Regions from separate parts of the Homo sapiens genome. Here all the other regions are linked to region 6. The links are contacts of gene promoters, found by promoter capture Hi-C in blood cells and fetal thymus (Javierre and others, 2016). All regions are on one chromosome and are shown on one strand. The core of a region is centred on a gene start or on the middle of the fragment in contact, and the rest is flanking DNA. Distances in the headings are between cores, read along the strand shown. Region 1 overlaps BLOC1S5-TXNDC5 (BLOC1S5-TXNDC5 readthrough (NMD candidate)). Region 2 overlaps BMP6 (bone morphogenetic protein 6). Region 3 overlaps BLOC1S5-TXNDC5 (BLOC1S5-TXNDC5 readthrough (NMD candidate)). Region 4 overlaps TXNDC5 (thioredoxin domain containing 5). Region 5 overlaps BLOC1S5-TXNDC5 (BLOC1S5-TXNDC5 readthrough (NMD candidate)). Region 6 holds the start of BMP6 (bone morphogenetic protein 6). Region 7 overlaps BMP6 (bone morphogenetic protein 6).

What was found. Contacts are between HindIII fragments. The CHiCAGO score rates a contact against its expected background, and 5 or more counts as called.
Region 1: a fragment that was not itself captured here is called in contact with the fragment with the promoter of BMP6 in region 6 in 3 of 17 cell types (megakaryocytes, endothelial precursors and naive B cells); the score reaches 7.2 in megakaryocytes.
Region 2: a fragment that was not itself captured here is called in contact with the fragment with the promoter of BMP6 in region 6 in 1 of 17 cell types (endothelial precursors); the score reaches 9.6 in endothelial precursors.
Region 3: a fragment that was not itself captured here is called in contact with the fragment with the promoter of BMP6 in region 6 in 5 of 17 cell types (naive B cells, M1 macrophages, endothelial precursors and 2 more); the score reaches 6.0 in naive B cells.
Region 4: a contact is called between a fragment that was not itself captured here and the fragment with the promoter of BMP6 in region 6, in 2 of 17 cell types (endothelial precursors and megakaryocytes). The highest score is 11.2, in endothelial precursors.
Region 5: a contact is called between a fragment that was not itself captured here and the fragment with the promoter of BMP6 in region 6, in 7 of 17 cell types (endothelial precursors, megakaryocytes, naive B cells and 4 more). The highest score is 10.9, in endothelial precursors.
Region 7: a fragment that was not itself captured here is called in contact with the fragment with the promoter of BMP6 in region 6 in 1 of 17 cell types (endothelial precursors); the score reaches 8.1 in endothelial precursors.

The regions. Positions count from the first base shown.
Region 1 is chr6:7,917,006-7,919,909 of GRCh38, forward strand. All of the region lies in intron 4 of BLOC1S5-TXNDC5 (BLOC1S5-TXNDC5 readthrough (NMD candidate)), which reads right to left. Among named protein-coding and RNA genes, the nearest start is that of TXNDC5, 7.7 kb to the left of the region's middle. RefSeq lists an enhancer at 2,555-2,904. The HindIII fragment of the contact is 1,768 bases long and covers 547-2,314 here.
Region 2 is chr6:7,875,648-7,878,574 of GRCh38, forward strand. The region is part of intron 4 of BMP6 (bone morphogenetic protein 6); the gene reads left to right. Among named protein-coding and RNA genes, the nearest start is that of TXNDC5, 34 kb to the right of the region's middle. The HindIII fragment of the contact is 4,534 bases long and covers 1-2,927 here.
Region 3 is chr6:7,934,800-7,937,655 of GRCh38, forward strand. The region is part of intron 4 of BLOC1S5-TXNDC5 (BLOC1S5-TXNDC5 readthrough (NMD candidate)); the gene reads right to left. Among named protein-coding and RNA genes, the nearest start is that of TXNDC5, 25 kb to the left of the region's middle. The HindIII fragment of the contact is 5,630 bases long and covers 1-2,856 here.
Region 4 is chr6:7,896,100-7,898,799 of GRCh38, forward strand. All of the region lies in intron 3 of TXNDC5 (thioredoxin domain containing 5), which reads right to left. All of the region lies in intron 6 of BLOC1S5-TXNDC5 (BLOC1S5-TXNDC5 readthrough (NMD candidate)), which reads right to left. Among named protein-coding and RNA genes, the nearest start is that of TXNDC5, 13 kb to the right of the region's middle. The HindIII fragment of the contact is 4,283 bases long and covers 1-2,700 here.
Region 5 is chr6:7,957,524-7,960,397 of GRCh38, forward strand. The region is part of intron 4 of BLOC1S5-TXNDC5 (BLOC1S5-TXNDC5 readthrough (NMD candidate)); the gene reads right to left. Among named protein-coding and RNA genes, the nearest start is that of TXNDC5, 48 kb to the left of the region's middle. The HindIII fragment of the contact is 3,377 bases long and covers 1-2,874 here.
Region 6 is chr6:7,724,779-7,727,478 of GRCh38, forward strand. BMP6 (bone morphogenetic protein 6) reads left to right here and starts at 1,321. Exons shown (of 7, transcript NM_001718.6): 1 at 1,321-2,700. The coding sequence starts at 2,178. The HindIII fragment of the contact is 3,909 bases long and covers 1,046-2,700 here.
Region 7 is chr6:7,855,232-7,857,931 of GRCh38, forward strand. The region is part of intron 2 of BMP6 (bone morphogenetic protein 6); the gene reads left to right. Among named protein-coding and RNA genes, the nearest start is that of TXNDC5, 54 kb to the right of the region's middle. The HindIII fragment of the contact is 2,307 bases long and covers 110-2,416 here.

The DNA of each region.
Region 1 (2,904 bases), core at 181-2,680, 190 kb after region 6:
AAAAATACAGCTTTTGTTTTCCACCTCCAGAGGATAACACAAGACCCAAATGTGTTGTAACATTGTCAAGACAACCCCAGGACATTCAGAAACTGAAATGCCACCATTTGAACCACTTTAACAGGTGCATCCTGAGTTATTATTGGGCGAACAGTACTGCTTTTAGGAGGTACTGAAAGCATTTACATCCTGTTGTTCTAATTTGGTCAGAACACCTTGGTAGGTGCCTCTAAAGAAGAAGAAAAACTGTGTTTTTCTTGATGAGCTCATGTGACCATTCAAATGTGATTGTTGAGAGGTGGAGAAAAAGCTAGAGGATTGCTCTCATCAGAGAAAATCTAAAGAAAAAGACCAAAGTGAATTCCCAGGCTGGAGTCACACAGGGAGTAGAGCTGTTTTCAGTGTATTGAAATGGTTAATGGAAAGGTCATATTTACTCACTACTCTCACAAGCTCCTTGGGCAACACAGCCTACTAAACAATTAATAAGCACCAAAAACCCACATTACATTATAACATAACAGATTCGGGTATTTGGCAGATAAAAGCTTTCAAAATCCATGTGGGATCTGTGAGGTCTCGGGGGTAGGGGGGAGGAGAATAAAGAGAGTTTCTTTGTTGACTGGATCATGACCACTAAGCTGAATGATCTGTGCTGTTTCTCAAAGTGCACAGAACACTCACTCCAGCTCCCAGGAGCTCATTCAGTCTGTGCAAGTGCTGGCTCTTCTCGTTCATGCCCCTGTCATTCTCCCAGCTCTTTGTCTGCTAGATGCTATTACAGGAGTTCTTATTTTTCCCAGAGTCCCCAGGTGCGGGGCCGATAGGCTGATCCAGAAGCTGATGCTCACCAGCACCTGGACTTCATAACAGGAGAGAAGACTTCTCCCTGATGCAGGTTGCTCACTGAGTTGTTCCACTCCTCTCTCAGCTGCGCTGGCCTGCAGTGATGGCCTTGGCCTTGGATCTGTGGCATTCCACACGGGCATGGGGACATGCCTCTCACAGCACTTAGGGGCCAGCTCTTCATAGCTGCCTGAATTTCAGAACACTATTCCAAGTTCAGAATCCAGGAAAATGTTTATCCTACCTGGGGGTTCTCAATTCTGGCTGCACATTGCAATCATCTAGGTCTTGAAAGCAATACTGATGGCTTTGTCCTACTTCCTAGGGTTGAGAATTCCTGGGATTAGAGGAGACACAGCCAGGATCTCAGTCCCTGGTGCGCCTGTGGCGGACTGTAGCAGGGCTCTGAGAGCACAGATGTGGAGCAGACCACCAAAGGAACGCTGATGTTTGCTGGAAGTTAATAGGTGTTTTCTTAAGAGAAGAGCTCTGACTGAGACATGTTTGAGGAACACTTGGTTAGGGTTAGGGTTAGGAGATAGAGAAGCCAGGAACAATGCCCAAATTAGACCACAATACTGCTCAAATTAGATCACAATACTGCTCAAATTAGATCACAATACTGCCACCACTGCTACCACCTCGACATGCAGATTCCTCCTATCCCACCTCTGGTACAGGACACTATATGTGACCATGGGAACCTCTGCAACCGCTGCCCTGCAGGATGGACTTTGCATGACCCCTGCTTCTTCGCAAAACTAGCTTCCAATGGAAGCCTCACTGCAGTAGGGCTCAATGGTCTATGCTCTATCCTAACTTGTGGCGGTTAGGTCAGAGGCTCCACAAATGCAGGAAAGGTGTCCAGTGAAGCTGGGCAGCCTGAAAGAATGTCAACTGTTGATACATTGAGTCCTTTTTTTTTTTTTTTTTTGGAGACAGAATTTCACTCTATTTCTCAGGCTGGAGTGCAGTGGTGCAACCTTGACTCACTGCAACTTCTGTCTCCTGGATGCAAGCGATTCTCATGCCTCAGCCATTGAAATAGCTGGGATTACAGGCGCCCACCACCACACCAAGCTAATTTTTGTATTTTTAGTAGAGACAGGATTTCACCATGTTGGCCAGGCTGGCCTCAAACTCTTGGCCTCAGGTGATCTGCACACCTCAGCCTCCCAAAGTGCTGAGATTACAGGCATGAGCCACCACACCTGGCCAACACACTGTGCCTTGAAGACTACTTAAGAATTGGCTGGATGAAGTGCTAATGGAAGAAGAAAGAAAAAGATAGAAACCTATTTCCTAAATGATTTATCAGAGATTTTTATTTGCGATTGCACCATCTGAATTCCTAAAAGTATCCTATGCAGTATTTCCCAACTTATTTGATTGTGGACTCCTTTTTATTTGTGGTGTCTCTTGTGTTGTTAATCCTCTGCAGAACACTCTGTGAAGTATTATATATAGAAGCTTGGGTCGTATTTCACATGGAAGGATCAATGTCTGGTTTCCTTTGCTTATTATAGCTGCAACATCTCCTCTTCCATTGTGTGCATTTAATTGCAAGAGAATTCACTCAACAAATATTTATTGGATCTAGTCTGTGTCAGGCACGTTTTTAGGTGCTGAGGATCAGCAACAACTGAAATAGACAAAAACCCTAGTCCTAATGAACTTCCATTGTAGGTGGGGAAACAGCCAATACGTAAGATATAGAAGATAAACACTATGTTAGCCAGTGGTAGAAGCCCAGAAGAAAACAAGGCAAGGAAGGGGGTATGAAGTGTCAAGGTTCAGATGGGATGTCAGGGTTTGGATAGGCTTATTGGGGACATGGCTTTCAAGTAAAGACGTGAGGGAGTAACACATGTGAATATCTGGTTCCAGCCGAGGGATCAGCAACTGCAAAGGACTTAGAGCGAATGAATAAGAAGGCAGTACAGAATGAGAACACTGGCTTTTACGAATGAGAAGGGAAGTCATCGGAGGGTTTTCAGAAGAAACACGACAGGATCTGGCTTCCAATTATTTCTACAGCATGGCTCTGAGAGCTGTAGC
Region 2 (2,927 bases), core at 160-2,659, 150 kb after region 6:
ACAGAGCAAAACCCCATTGCAGAAAAAAAAGTTTTATCAGCTACTTGGGCATTCCATAGTCCAATCAAGTTGACACAAAATTAACTATCACAGTGCTCTAGATTGCATGCAGTAGAAGCAGACTGTAATGAGAGAGAAAAGCGTACCAGGGAACTTACCCAATCAACAAAAAGGCTGGAGACTTAATTCAGGAAATCAAGGCTCAGATCTAGTCATGGAACAATGTGCTTTGGATCCCTCCAATGTGGTCATCACCCTAGACACTGGCTGCCGTACTACCCATTCTTGATGTCACCTTTGAGTCACTCCCTCAGGTTATACACTGCAGGGTGGAGACATTTGATTGGCTTTGATGAAGTCATGAGTCCGTACTTCAGATGCTAGGGGACAAAGAGGGGAGCTATCTGTCGTGGGAAATGGGGCTCTGAGTCCCACCTATCTAGGCATTCCCCCACATGCGAAGTGTTGCCAAAAGCTGGGTAGCAAAAGCAGTAAATATCCACTACAGCTGGGTATGGCATTCTAGGTTTGATGGCATCATTTTCATATTATTTAATTTTTTAATGTGTATTTTTGTTAAGTTTGCTATCCATTTTGTGTTTCTTAGTAATTTTCTTTTTATCTCTGGATTACTTTTAAGAATTTATGTGTTTGATATAATTTCACTACATGTGGCTAGATAAGAATTTATCTGATCCTCTTGGAACTCTTTGGGCCTTTTCAACTTAAAGATGTTTGCCTTTCTTTAGTTGTAGAAAATTCCCAGTCATTATGTCTTCAAATACTACTACTCCCTATTACTGCCTTCCGAAATTCCTATTAGAAATTTGTTGGACTTTTCATTCTCTCTTCCATGTCTCTTTACAAAGAGACAGTCATGTATTTTGGCCATTTGATTCTGTGCTATATTTGAAGAGATTTCAAATATACTGTTGAATTCTTTAATTCTGTCTTCAGTTATGTGTAATTTGATGATTATCTGTTTAATGTATAACTAATCTGTTAAGTAATCTGTTTAATCTGTTAATTAGACAACTAATGTTTAACCTGTTTAATCTGATCTTTAGTTATATCTAATCTGATTTCATTGTTATTTTCAATGGTTATGGTTTTTATAAAGTTCTATTTGACTCTTTTTACATCTACCTGTTCTTTTTTCATGTTTTTTCCCCATAATTTTGTTTTAAGGTTTCTAGTCCTTCTTTTCTTCCTTCCATTATTTTAGGTATTCTTCCTTTTTTTTCCTCTAGTTTTTGTTTTTAGTTTTGTTATTGTTTTGTTTTGTTTTGGTATTCTTCCTTTAGAGCTTAGTTCAGATGACTCTTATCCACAGTCTCTGGGGTCCTCTGGGTCTTCCCTTGCATTCCAGCCATCCTCTTGAGAGACTTTGTGTGGCTGATTCATTTTTGTTCAGGGGTTCTTTTCAGTAGGAAGTTTCTGTCTTATGGTGATAGTTGGTTGATTGTTTTTACTGAGAGAGTCCTTGTCCTGCATTGTGAAAATTTCCCTCCAGGGCTTCTCTGGGGTCCTTAAAGTTAAAGGCAGGGTGGTTCTGTTGGGTAACATAGGCAGGTGGAGAGGATAAATAAATTTAGAATTATAAACCACCTAAAAAAGTTGCCCCATCTCTTCTCCCAGTATAGGCCACTGGCCTGAGTCACTGTCTCTTTTCCTTAAAAAATCATGAAATCTGGTGGGGCATGGTGGCTCACACCTGTAATCTCAGCACTCTGGGAGGCTGAGATGGGCAGATCACTTAAGGTCAGTAGTTCGAGACCAGCCTGGCCAATGTGTTGAAACCCCATCTCTACTAAAAATACAAAAAATTAGCTGGGCATGGTGGCTCGCGCCTGTAGTCCCAGCTACTCGGGAGACTGAGGCAGGAGAATCGCTTGAACCCAGGAGGCAGAGGTTGCAGTGAGCCGAGCTCGTGCCATTGCACTTCAGTCTGGGTAACAGAGCAAGACTCTGTCTCAAAAGAAAAAAAAAAAAATTAATGAAATCTGCACGCTCTCTCCTGCTTCAGAGCCAGGAAGACTGGGAGTTAGAAGTTAGAAAATCAAGTTCAAACAGGCTTTCAACAATTAGGTGACTTACTGGCTTATGTAGTTGAAAAGGGAAGGGATAGCCTGCAAATGACCTAGGCTCTTACACCCACTGACATCCCACATTAGATGACCTTTCTCTAAAGCCTTCTCCTTGCCTTTTCTCTCTCCGTCGTTTCTCGAACTCTCCAACACAACTCCAGATGGATTAATCCTTTCGAATCACAGCGGGAAATGCTGCTCTGCAGCTCAGAACCCTGCAAAGGCTCACTTTGTGCCTCTGGTGGGAAGTCCGAAGCATTGTGGTTGGCAGCCTAGGCCATTCATTTCTCCAGCTTTATCTCATCCGACCCTGCTTGACACATCCTTAAATCCATTCCAGCAGAACTCCTCTCTCTTCCTCTCACTCCCACTCTGAACTGTCCCTTCTCTGAAGGGACATTTGCCTATGGCCCTTGCCTGTGTGATATTTGCCTATGGCCTTTGCCCGTAGCATCCATGTTCTGGTTTGTATTGGAGTTATTTGTGTGTCTGTTTTACACCACCCCTTCATTCACTGAGTTCTTGGAGGGAGGAAAGCCATGTCTGACTTACCGTCTATTGGCCGTGGTGCCAGGCAGAAGGCATGTCACGTAAGAGTCGCTCCAGTGGGCCTCAGTGAATTGGGGCACCCCCAGTGCTCTTGCTGGTGATTCAGTTAAGCCAGGCTAGTGGCCCCTGTGCTGCACAGGGTGGGTACATGCACTTCAGCAGAGTCTCCTGAGGAACCCCTGGCTTAGTGTTATTGCATCAGCACACAAGAGCTCAACCCTGGCAGTGAGGTGGGAGTACAGCCAGAGAGAGCATTGCCCCTGCGTGGTGTCTCCCTCTCCCCCGTTCCTG
Region 3 (2,856 bases), core at 172-2,671, 210 kb after region 6:
ACCTGGAGCTTTCCAGGTATCTTAGTTCATTCGGGCTGCTGTAACAATACCACCAGACTGGGTGGCTTAGAAACAACAGAAAGTTATTGCTCACAGTTTTGGAGGCTGGGAAGTCCAAGGTCAAGGTGCTGGTAGATTCAGTTTCTAGGGAGGTCTTCTTGCTGTTTCACAGATGGTGCCTTCTTACTGTGTCCTCACATAGTGAAAAGGGGAAGGCAGCTCTCTGGCCTCTATTATAAGGGCACTAATCCCATTCACAAGCACTCCACCCTCATGATCTCACCACCTCCCAAAGACTCACCTCCTAATACCAGCACACTGGTGATTAGGTTTCAACATATGAATTTGGTAGGGACACAAACATTCAGACCATAGCCCCAGGTGAGTTTCGCAGCCCACTCTTTCCTCCAGAACTCTGCCCTCCAAGCCTAGAGATTCACAGGGAACAGAACTTTGCCCATCACTTCCCGGGAGGCTGTGTCATCCCTCAAGGTGGGACTTCTTTCTGCCGTTTTAATGATTTTCTTCCTTAGATTTCTGTATAAGTAGAGGCTTTTGCTAAATTTACTTTTCTTAGGTTATTTATGTAGAATTGGTTGTGGAATTAGTGTTTAGAAATAAATTGTGTCCCCAACCCAAACATCTTTACCTGAGAGACCAGAACATCTTTTTCAAATGAAAGAGCAGGCCGGGCATGGTGGCTCATGCCTGTAATCCCAGCACTTTGGGAGGCCAAGGCAGGTGGATTGCCTGAGGTCAGGAGTTCAAGACCAGTCTGGCCAACACAGTGAAACCCCATCTCTACTAAAAATACAAAAAAATTAGACAGGCGTGGTGGCATGCACCTGTAATCCCAGCTACTCGGGAGGCTGGGGCAGGGGAATTGCTTGAGCCAGGGGGGTGGAGGTTGCAGTGAGCCAAGATTGTGCCACTGCACTCCAGCCTGGGTGACACAATGAGACTCTGTCTCAAAATGAAAAAGTAAAAAAGCATAATTATCTTAGGTGTGGTGATTACAACGGTTTTTTTTCCCTTCCTTTTCTCTTAAACTATATGAACCTTCCAAATTGCACATTCTAAACCTGAAAATTTAGAATTTTTATTATTTTTGCATTGTAGAGTATATGGACTGTAAACTGGACACTGCCTTCACAATTAATCTATTTGTAAATTTATTTGCTTTAAATTAAGAAGTTTGAGCAAACTTTAATACCTTCACTAACCAGTGAAAGACTCCACAGTCCCTATTGTATTTTATTTAATAAATAGCTGATTTAGAAATATCCTACCACTTATTATATGTACACTAATTCAGAGTAAATTAACACCTGTCTCTGAAAAAAGGCAACTTCTCAGTGCTTGACATTCAAATGTCTAAAGATGCATCAGTTTATTCCTTTTTACTTCCGAAGGATACTGCATCACTCAACACATCTATTTCACTTAATGCACATATCCAAACTTTCTTTGTTTGAGTCAAAATTTCTGGTACCAAAGACAATAAAATTAATTTCAAAGTTACTTATAAACAGAATCTCTTATGAAAAACTTACAAAAATATTTTTAAAAATTTAACAAGTATATTTTCTCTTCTTCTCTCTTTGCTGTTTAGTGAAGTTATAACTCCATAGAAATAAAAATCTTTTTTTAGAGAATTTTAGTCCATATTTCTTTTTTTCTTTTTCTTTCTTTCTTTCTTTCTTTTTTTTTTTTTTTGAGACAGAGTTTCTCTCTTGTTGCCCAGGCTAGAGTACAATGGTGCAGTCTCGGCTCACTGCAACCTCTGCCTCCTGGGTTCAAGTGATTCTCCTGCCTTAGCCTCCCAAATAGCTGGTATTCCAGGTGCCCACCACCACGCCCAACTAATTTTTGTATTTTTAGTAGAGACAGATTTCCATCAGCTGGCCAGGCTGGTCTCAAACTCCTGACCTCAGATGATCCGCCACTGGTCTCCTGAAGTCCTAGGATTACAGGTATGAGCCACCGCACCCAGCCTTTATTCCATATTTCATCTCCTGTGGCTATGTCTTTGTTATCTTCTTTATCTTCTCTTTTTAATCCATATGTGTAAACATAAAAGGTTAAGAAACTTTAACAACTGATTGCATTCAGGTAACAAAATCAATGTAATATCCTAAGTCTTCAGACTTACTAATAATGGGAGAACTGTGAAGCCAAGTTCATAAAAAATCAGGTCTTGGATACCTAGTATTTACTCAGTTGTGCCTCCTTGCTCAGTGTTTAAACACAGAAGAATCTACAGCCTCACACACCTAGGTCAGACATAATATAAAATATACCACATGCATTTAATGATGGACAAACCTCAGTGATGTAAGTATAATTTTTCTGCTCAATTAAAAAAACTCTCTGCAATTTTTCATAAACATAAATGTGATTTTTGTTGCTCCAGCCAAACCCTGACACCCACAGCAGCAACCTCCCTTTTGTATCAAAGGAAGAGTCGTGGGGTTCTGAGGTGTGTTGTGTTGCTATGTTCAGCCGAGCAGCTCCAGGGACCCCACCAGAAAGAGCTACTCGTCGGCAGTGGTAGCAGCTACCACTGCTCACATCTGTGTCACTGAGGCTGGAGTCTGGAATTTCTGAGTTACAGGGCTGTCTCTGCCAAAGACTTGCTGGCAAAGTTTTTTGTCTGCAAAATAGACACAATAATGAGGACCTCATAAGGACTTTAAGAAGTGCCCTACACCCTGGAAACTTCTGTTGGCAGAAGTGAAGGGAGAAATTAACTCTTCCCCTAGGAAAAAAAATTTTCCATAGCAGTTCTAAACTTTGTCCCTTGTGTAGGACGATAAGCAGTTTTTAAATGCAAATAAGGCTAGTGATGGAATTTTA
Region 4 (2,700 bases), core at 182-2,681, 170 kb after region 6:
AAAACTGTGAGGAAGACACAACTGTGGAAGACTGATCAGAGAGAAAAGGAGGTGATGAGAAGGAAAATGCAGGTGAATGAAAGGCAACAGAGAGAAAACCATGGCATGAACATAAGCTGCACCTTCAAGAAAGAATGTAATTCATATGACTAAGTCTCATACAGAAAGAGGGGGAAAGGGGCTTTTCAAAAGATGCTTCTGCCAGGACCCAAGCAGACAGCAATGTGTGCAGCTGTCTAGTCACAATCCTACATTTCTCAACTTTTCAGACCAGGTACAGCTGTGGCTTCCAACCAAAGTAACCAGAAATGAGGGAAAGATAATGGAATCAGTGTTCTGCTGCAGACACATTAAGTGTATATTACTCAGCTTTTATCTGGGGGTTCATATTCCTATTAAAAAGAATATCCAAGCTAAGTTGTTAAAGGCTTTAAAGGTGCTGACAGTTCAAAGCTGTGCAGGGCTGGAATCATAAAGAACCACAAAGTTTCCCTTCTGCTGCCAGCGCGTCAAGACTTTCAAAGTGCTAAATACCCACACAAAACAATGCCCAAGGGAAGAATGGCTAAGTGAACAGTCAATGGGTGCACATAAGGTGAAATAAAATACCGTGTGCCACTCTCCATGAGATGTTCAAGGGCCTTTCAGTATGAAGTGTTCATTTATGGCACATGCGGGGCCTCTAGTTGCTTCCTGGGTTCCTGGCAGACTCCAGAGCAGTCCCCCGGCATGGGAACACCACAGTGCATCCCAGAAACAGGTCACGTCTTGCCCTACAGTGGCAGCATAAGCTGATATGGTGCTTAAGAAACCTGGCTATATTCATCAAGAGCCATAAAAATGATCTTTTTTTTTATTCTTGGCCTTATAATTTTATGTCTGGGAATACTATATTCTAAAAATATCACTCAAAAGAAGGGGGGGTGGAAAGTCCTTTACAAAGATAAACTTGTTCCCTACATCATTACTGATGATGGAAAAGGTATAAATAACCTAAATATCCACTGACAGAATTAGAGTTGAATTATGGCAAATCCACATGATAAAATAATATAAGACATGATCAACATAAAGACCACATAAATATATAAAATCATTAATGAGATGAAACATGTTTGTATAACTGTTCAAGAAAAAATACAGAAGCAAACATGGAAATACAAAAATTGCAGTAGAATGTACAAAGTGACAAATTGTCTTTTGAGTTTCTTGAATATTGCCACAACACTTAAAAAAATCTAAATTTATCCCACGTGAATATTAAAAAATGTATGTACTAAGTTACTTAGGTATACAGATAAAGAACTTTTTTTAAAGTTTTCACTTAAAAAGCTAAGAGAATTCTGGTTTGCAGTATAAAGTGTATATACTTAAACTTTTCCACAATAAGGCGCATTGTCATTGTTTCTGGCAATTATCTGGGGCCTGCTATTGCTGGAGACACTAAAATATGGCAAGTTGGTGACTGTGGTTCTGGGGTGGCATGGGGGGATTACACGCGGCCATCCTGCTCCCACACTGAGGAGACAGAAAGTCCCTTGCAGAGCCTGGACGCAGCCTCTCAGCCCTTTCCAACCTGCAGGTGAGGCCGCCACCTCCACTAAGGGAAATGGGCCATGAGATGAGGTCTTTCTGCCGTCCTGATACTGGCTGCTGGTTTCTTGAATAAAGCCATCATAGAAGACTGGCTTTTTTGGTGAAATTTATTTGAGGCTATTAACTCCTCCTTAAAATTGGTTTGCTACCATCCAATATATGTGTCCCCACAAAGAGAATATTTTCACAAAGGAAACAATGTCCAATTGAAAACTATGAAAGTCACACCTGCTCATTCAGCTTTCTTGCCAGGACAAAGATGCAAATTTCCTGAGAGGTCTGTGGTTCTTTTAGCTAAAGTTAGGTAAGTCTCTGGTTCAACGACATAACATCACACACCAACAGTCTCCACCATACAGTTCAGAGAGTTTTTTTTTTTTTTCCACGATAGTTTTTGCTCTGTTGCATAGGCTGGAGTGCAGTGGCATGATCTCGCCTCACTGCAACCTCTGCCTCCTGGGTTCAAGTGATTCTCCTGCCTCAGCCTCCCAAGTAGCTGGGATTACAGGCACCTACCACCTGGCTAATTTTTGTATTTTTAGCAGAGACGACGTTTCACCATGTTGGCCAGGCTGGTCTTGAACTCTTGACCTTGGGTGATCCACCCGCCTCAGCCTCCCAAAGTGCTAGGATTACAGGCATGAGCCACCACACCCAGCCGAGTTGAGAGAGTCTTTGCAGGTGAGGGATGGAAGCACTGAATCAGCAGCCAAGTTTCTGATTAGGTCATCAGAGAAGATGGGGCAGAGCGGAAGAGCCGCACAGACACACTGGAAACTGGCAACAGTAAGCGGCAAAGCTCCAAAAGGACCACCACAGACCACCTTCAAATCAGTGGGCGCTTAGCTGATACAAGAAGGTAGTCTTAGGTATTTGTTGAAATTGAAATTACAAAGACTTCAGATGCTCTTCCTAGCTCATCAGGATCCTACAGTGTAGGAACACGAGTGTTTTTCCAGTCCCTCTCCAACACAGCAGCATGACCCACCAGGTCTACCCGGCATCCAGGGACCTGAGCACTCGGCATTAATCAGAAGGCACCACCCACAAAGGAACACTTAACCAGTGGTTTATGATCATGATGATTTATAAAAAAGTGAAGAC
Region 5 (2,874 bases), core at 233-2,732, 230 kb after region 6:
TATGTTAACAAAGACTTAAATACGTTTTAGACAATCTAATTTTCCTACTACGTAACTATTAAAATACCCTCATCTACATTAAGAAACATTTATCTCTAGAAAAAAACTTGTAAGTTGGACAAACCAAGAGGATAGACTGTGTAATGGAATATTATTCAGCCTTAAAAAAGGAAAGAATCCTGTCATTTATAATAACGTGGATAAACTTGGAGGATGATATACCAAGTGAAATAAGCCAGACACAGAAAGACAAATATTGCAAGATATCACTTTTATGTGGAATCTAAAAAAAGTCAAACTTAAGAAAACAGAGAAAGGTCATTTCCAGGGGCTGGGGGAGGGCGGAGTAAATGGGGAGAGGTTGACGGAAGGGTATGAACTTCCAGTTAATGAGTAAGTCCTAGAGCTCTAGTGTGCAGCATGGTGACTACACTCAATAATACTGCACTGTGTACTTGAAATTCACTAAGAGACTGACCTAAAGTGTTCTCACCACACATACAGAGAATAACTATCTCAGGTGATGGGTATGTTAATTAGCTTGTTTGTGGCAATTATTACATAAGATATACTTACATCAAAACACCATGTTTTACACTTTAATTTTCTTTTCTTTTTTTTTTTTTTTTTTTTTGAGACGGAGTCTCACTCTGTTGCCCAGGCTGGAGTGCACTGGCACAAGCTCAGCTCACTGTAACCTCTGCCTCCTGGGTTCAAGCGATTCTCCAGCCTGGGCCTCCTGAGTAGCTGGGATTACAGGTGTGCACCACCATGCCCAGCTAATTTTTGTATTTTTAGTAAAGATGGGGTTTCACCATGTTGACCAGGCTGGTCTCGAACTCCTGACCTTGTGATCTGCCCGCCTCGGCCTCCCAAAGTGCTAGGATTACAGGCGTGAGCCACCCCATCTGGCCAATTTTCTATTTTTCAATCATATCTTAATAAGCCTGGGGGGGAAAGGATAGTATTTAGAAAGTGGCTTCTATGGGCTGTTTACCACTGTCTCCTTCTATGGAACCAAGAATATAATTGTATAATAGAAGTTTAAATGCTTTGGCTTTGGGTGAATTGGCCAAAGGTAATGCTTGTGACCACAGGTTAGAGTGTTTCCTCTAAACCACGAGAACTGACCTGAAAGGAAACAGACAGGGAATCCTTAGTCTGTAACCAACTGAACCAGCCAAGCAAGCTCACCAGTGCCTGTCAGCCTCAGTGGCTGAGAACTACTATGTGTCAGGTCATTGAGATAACCTGCAACTTGCCCACAATAGAAGGATGGGGCCACTTTTTACTCTCCTTTTTATTTTATTTTTTAAAGTTTTTTTTTTTTTTGAGATGGAGTTTCGCTCTGTCACCCAGGCTGGAGTGCAATGGTGCGATCTCAGCTCACTGCAACCTCCGCCCCCCAGGTTCAAGCGATTCTCCTGCCTCAGCCTCCCGAGTAGCCGGGATTACAGGCGTCGGCCACCATGCCCGGCTAATTTTTGTATTTTTAGTAGAGATGGGGTTTCGCCACATTGGCCAGGCTGGTCTCCAACTCCTGACCTTAGGTGATCCACCTGCCTCAGCCTCCCAAAGTGCTAGGATTACAGGCATAAGCCACCGTGCTCGGCCTCTGCTTTTTAAATGACAATGGTTTTGGGGACCGTATGTTCCTTGAGTGAAACATTCCTTATAAGCAGCCTACACCATTCACCGCCACGTAGTTGTGGATTTTAGCATCCTTCCATGTGCACAGGCTTCTCCTGCCTTCAGGAGTTCACATCTGAGTGGAATCTACCCCGGTAGGTCCCCGGAAAGGTTCAAAAGCTCCTCTCAGAGCAGGAAGTTATCAACTCCGTAATTTCCCAGGCTAATTTTACAGACTAGTCTTAGGAAGCGCTTGATGTTGACAGCGACCATGTGGCTTTCTTACTGAAAACCCAAGTGCCCAGTAAATAAGCTCAACTACAAAGTAAAGAAGAAACGTGGTGCTCAATTCCAATGATTCAAAAGTTTAACCATTGCTTTTAGGAGTTAATCACTCAATGACATATTTCCTTTCCTAAATAAACATTGACTTTTTGACATCTGGTGTTGGATCTCTTATGTATATGGGTATGGCTCAGTTCCTGGAGAGAGTAGAGATAGTGACACAGAATGGGCCATCAGGCCACACCTCAGTGTACTTGCCACTAGGACGTTAATAAGGGATGCACAGTAGTGTCACAGATTCCAGCCCTGCAAGTAGGGCCACGAGAGGAAAAGTGGTTGCTCTTTGTTTCATCGTCAATATTCAATATAAGAAAAATGAGCTGGGCATGGTGGCTTATGCCTGTAATCCCAGCACTTAGGGAGGCCGAGGTGGGTGGAGTTTGAGACCAGCCTGGCCAACATGGCGCAACTCTGTCTCCACTAAAAATACAAAAATTAGCTGGGCATGGTGGCAGATGCCTGTAATCCCAGCTACTCAGGAGACTGAGGCAGGAGAATCACCTGAGCCTGGGAGGCGGAGGATGCAGTGAGCCGAGATCGCACCACTGCACTCCAGCCTAAGTGACTGACAGAGACAGACATTGTCTCAAAAAAAAAAAAAAAAAAGATAAATGGTTCTTAAACATGAGAATGGCAGGGGAAGTTGGAAAGTTTTGTTGTAGTGAATACAGATTTGATTTGGTTACTCCACGAGAGTCATTTTAGCACCAAGTATATTAAATGATGACATGAAGAAGAGCTTCATATGCTGAAGAGACAACTGACAACCCGAACTTCCACAGGTTCTCACCTTCTGTGGCTTATTATAGCTCATTTTCCTTTCAGATCTTACAATCTCCCACTTTAGGAACTGAAATTCTTCGGAATTTCCTGTGATTATGTTTTCTAGTGTTACGGGAA
Region 6 (2,700 bases), core at 71-2,570:
CAGATATTTGTAGAAATAAAGACTCTTCTAAATGACCACTTGTGTCTGGGCCAAGGCAGAACTAGAAAGAAGGACTCAGTGGGTAGTTGGAGTCAGTGGTGGTCTCTATTTACCCATGAGAAATAGATTCTTGGAAATAGGATAGGAATGCTTATAAGATTTGGACCAACAGAAAGCCTATGATCTCATAAATTCATGAATCCCACAGTCTATAATCTATTTGACTTCACTCTCAAATGCCTAGGACCATTTGGACTAAGGCTGGCAAGTCAGAAAATTGCAGTTTTTATTTTCAACTCCACACAATTTTCACCAAGTAAAAAACCTTCATGTTTTACGTGAATTTGCTTCTACGATCCATAGATGACTGGATGTTCTCGGGCGGGGTAAAGGCAAATGAATTTGTGTCCTCATTGGCAAATGGTGTTGGTGGTGGTGTTATCTTGTCTAAAATCCACAGGAACCTGTGTTTCAGGACCCTGTCTATTGTCCTGACCATTCAGAATGCATGCCAAGCCCCTGCTCTTCCTGGAGTTATCTTTATCACCTCTCCTCAAGTTTTATCTTGCACCATATAAGTCACATTGTATTTCAATATTAAAATGCAACATTAATAGATAAGCTGGAGAATCAAGACATTTCCAAGAAGACAGGGGACGCCTTTTCTAATATATCGTCTGATTACACCCTCTTTCTTTTGGGTGCTAGCTTAAGAAGCCAAACCAAAGCACAAATGAACAGAGAAGTCAACACATCCGACCCCAAACCCTCAGGACGCTGGCTTGGGTTACATGTGGCCCTCTCTGTGGTCAGTTTGTGAGTAGCCTCCCCGGAGGGTGTGTCCCAACTTCCAGCAGCTGCCGTGGAAAGCCACGTGTCCGCTAAACGCCTACATTACATCAATAAGAGAAACTAAGGAAGGGATGGAAAAGCTATCATTTTTCTTTTCTTCCTCAGTTCTGGCAGTATAGTGATTTAATCGCTGTTATTATTTTTATTTAGTTAAAGCATCAACTTAGGCCTTTTAAATGATGGTAAAAGAGAAAGCTTCAGATCGGGGTATTGGTCAGATCATTCTTACTAGCGATGACCTCTTCGCCTTTGGCACCTCGCGGCTCTTCGCATGCCTCCAAGAATTCCCGGGTCTTGAAACCTACGCGCGGCGGAGGCGACGCCTCTCGGGAGAGGGAGGGTGAAAGAAGGGGCGGGGCTATTTAAATAGCCCGCGAGCTTCGCGTCCCCATTGGCTGCCAGCCTGTCGGTTACCGCGGGGCGGGGAGTCCCGGGGCTGGAGTGAGGTACCTGAGCCGGGCGCGCAGCAGAAAGCCCACGTTGGCCGCTGCGGGGAGCGCGGCGTGGAGAGGCGGGAGACCGAATTCCGGCGCCGCCGCCGCGGCCGCTGCTCGGTGCACTAGCCCCCTTCCTTCCCATCCTTTCTGCGAGCGGGTTTGCTGGGCAGCCGGGCGACCGCCGAACGGAAAGCAAGATCCTCGCCGCCTCCGCTTGAGGAGGCGTGCGGCGCGCGGAGATTTTGAGTGGGAGCGACGGTGCCCGAGAGCTCAGGGGCGCGGAGTTCGTGAGCGAGAAGGAAGTTAAACCTCGCGGAATAGACTGGCATTTCGGGACGCCTTGTCGCCGCAGCCTGGGCCCTGCAACGGGGTAAACTTCATGGTGGCCCTGCGATCTGGGGAGGGGCGTGCGCCACGGTGATGCCGGGCATCTCCCGCAGCTCGTGAGCGGCCCCGCTCCCCGCTGCCCCGGGTCCCACTCAGTCGCCAGGGAGAGCGCGGGGCAGCGCACGTGTGCGGCCAGCGAGGCCCAGAGTGACCGCGCCGCGACTCGCAGGAGCCAGGGCGCAGGCTGCAGTGCAGCCCGGACTCAGACGCACCTGGCCTGGACCGCGCGCCTCTAGAGACCTGCGCGAGGCTGTGAGGCTCCCCTTCCTCCCCTCCAAGCGGTTCTCCTGGTGATCGCCCCTTCGCCACCTCTCTAGCCTGGGCAACTGGGGGCGCCCCGGACGACCATGAGAGATAAGGACTGAGGGCCAGGAAGGGGAAGCGAGCCCGCCGAGAGGTGGCGGGGACTGCTCACGCCAAGGGCCACAGCGGCCGCGCTCCGGCCTCGCTCCGCCGCTCCACGCCTCGCGGGATCCGCGGGGGCAGCCCGGCCGGGCGGGGATGCCGGGGCTGGGGCGGAGGGCGCAGTGGCTGTGCTGGTGGTGGGGGCTGCTGTGCAGCTGCTGCGGGCCCCCGCCGCTGCGGCCGCCCTTGCCCGCTGCCGCGGCCGCCGCCGCCGGGGGGCAGCTGCTGGGGGACGGCGGGAGCCCCGGCCGCACGGAGCAGCCGCCGCCGTCGCCGCAGTCCTCCTCGGGCTTCCTGTACCGGCGGCTCAAGACGCAGGAGAAGCGGGAGATGCAGAAGGAGATCTTGTCGGTGCTGGGGCTCCCGCACCGGCCCCGGCCCCTGCACGGCCTCCAACAGCCGCAGCCCCCGGCGCTCCGGCAGCAGGAGGAGCAGCAGCAGCAGCAGCAGCTGCCTCGCGGAGAGCCCCCTCCCGGGCGACTGAAGTCCGCGCCCCTCTTCATGCTGGATCTGTACAACGCCCTGTCCGCCGACAACGACGAGGACGGGGCGTCGGAGGGGGAGAGGCAGCAGTCCTGGCCCCACGAAGCAGCCAGCTCGTCCCAGCGTCGGCAGCCGC
Region 7 (2,700 bases), core at 13-2,512, 130 kb after region 6:
GAGGTAGTCTGGCTTTAGGTCCTTGGCTCACAAAGTATGGTTCTTAGACCAGCAGCATCAGCATCACGTGGGAACCTGTTAGAAATGCAGATTCTCAGGCCCCTCCCCAAGCTTACTGAGTCAGAAGCCCTAGGGGTGAGGGGCAGCAATCCATGTGTTAAGCCCCCGCAGGGGATTCTGATGCAGGCTACACTTGAGAACCACTGATAAAAGAGCACGTACAACACATGAGCCAAACTGCCTGGGTTCAAATTCCAGCTCTGCCCTTGCTGGCTGTGTGACCATGTGCAAGCCACTTAATCTCAATCTCTCTCTCTCTCTCTTTTTTTTTTTTTTTTTTTTTTTTTTTGAGATGAGTTGTGCTCTGTCGCTCAGGCTGGGGTGCAGTGGCACAATCTCAGCTCACTGCAACCTGCACCTCCCAGGCTCAAGAGATCCTCCCACCTCAGCCCATGCCCAGCTAAATTTTTTATTTTTTGTAGAGGCAGGGTTTTGCCATGTTGCCCAGTCTGGTCTCGAACCCCTGGGCTCAAGTGATCTACCTGCCTCAGCCTCCCACGGTGCTGGGATTACAGGTGTGAGCCACCATGCCCTGCCCACTTAATCTCTTTGTGCCTCAGTTTCTTCATCTATAAACCTGTAACAGCATTAATAGTATTTACCTCTTACGGTTGTTGTGAGGCATTAATATATGTGAGAGTACCTAGAACAGTCGCATAGTAAACACCATGTTAAGGTTTGCTATGTTAATATTCTAACAGCAAAGTGATTTATATTGGTTTTTTAAAGACGAAATAGCCCCTACAGAATCAAGGTGCATTTGATATTTGAAACGTCTCTTCATACCATGCTAGCCATTGGGTGAAAATTGAGTAATATCAAAGACTGTAAAAAAAAAAAAAAAAAAAAAAAATGCAAGTGTAGCCAAATAATGTTCATTCATCTTTGTTACTCAAATTTGTATGTGTACATGTATGCAGCAGTTTACTCTTTTTTGTAGTACTTTATTTTCAAATATATGATGCCTTTTCTATCTTTCTAATGGTAAAAGTTTAAACATAATCTATACTGTACTTTACGTAAGGAAAAAGTAAAAAGCATGAGCTTGACTCCTTAATTTTCTAAAATGAAAATGGATTTTTTTTACTTTCATTCTATTTGAAAAATGAATTTTTCTTATTGCAGAAAGTCAGTTCCTCCATGTATGAATGTTGTTTTGTATTTTAATGTAACATCAAGTCCAGACGTACAAATGCAAAGGAATGTGTTATGGAGAAATAAAGAACAAGACCACAGAATCACCTTACTGAGTATTTCATAAATCTGCTTACTTTGAATATATAAATGCCAGTTTATCAAGAGCATTTTTTTTTTTTTTTTTTTGAGACGGAGTCTCGCTCTGTCGCCCAGGCTGGAGTGCAGTGGCGGGATCTCGGCTCACTGCAAGCTCCGCCTCCCGGGTTCACGCCATTCTCCTGCCTCAGCCTCCCAAGTAGCTGGGACTACAGGCGCCCGCCACTACGCCCGGCTAATTTTTTGTATTTTTAGTAGAGATGGGGTTTCACCGTTTTAGCCGGGATGGTCTCGATCTCCTGACCTCGTGATCCGCCCGCCTCGGCCTCCCAAAGTGCTGGGATTACAGGCGTGAGCCACCGCGCCCGGCCTCAAGAGCATTTTTCTATCAAAATGGTTAGTAGTAAACACTGTTGTACTTTGACCCCGGCATTGTGACCTTGATGGGTGTGTGGTTTGTCAGGAAAGGGTCGAAGCCTGTCCACCAGGAGCTCAGGCACCTCCTGCCCTTGTCCGAGGGCAAAGGAGAGAAAGGCCTGCTGTATTTTGGCAATGGTGCTCTCTGTCAGCCCAGTGGTGTATCACTGATGTGAGCATGTGCCTTGGAGGCTGTGTGATGGGAGGGATATGCAGGGATAAATCTTGCCCACAAACACCAATTCTACTAGTCTTTATGAGTGGCTTTCTGATTCATCAACTCTAAAGCCAGGGTGAATTTTTGAAATTTTCCAGAAATATCTTACTAGCATATTAATTTGTTAAGAACCTCATTTGCCCAGGATGACCACAATGTGAGGAATATCACGCTCTGAGGTTGGAATAACATTGAGAAGAGTAACACTGTTACATCCTTGAAGATTGGAAGCGTATTCATCATGCAAATGTAGGGTCTGAGTTAGTTGAGAACAAAATAGTCAATAACTGCATTAAAAATTATCTTCCCTTGTTTCAAGATTTTCTTTCGTGGTTTGCCACCTTGAGAGTATGTCACCTCAATAGGAAGGTCCAAGTAATCTAGGCATGGTGATGATTTTGGCCAGTCTCTAGGATTCTTTATCAGTGACACACATTTTAGGTGAGAACATCTCTTCTGAACTCTGCCAAAGTGAGATTTAGAAGGGAAAGCTTATTTTTCACGTGGCAAAATCAGATGCATCTTCTTCGAGGCTACACTTTTACAGTCCGCAGACTAGGAAGGCCATGTATCCCTGAGGAAACATTAGTACATGTGGGTCAGACCAGAACCGTTTTAGTGATTTGTCATCAACAGCATCTCTTCAATATCTGAGTTGTTGGAAGCTTTGAGGGTGAGCCCATAAAGTTGTGTCTTAAAGCTTCATTCCTTTTTCAAGTTCCTCTCCCTCGTGGTGTGAACATATTAGTGATGTTCTCATGCTGGGCGCAGCA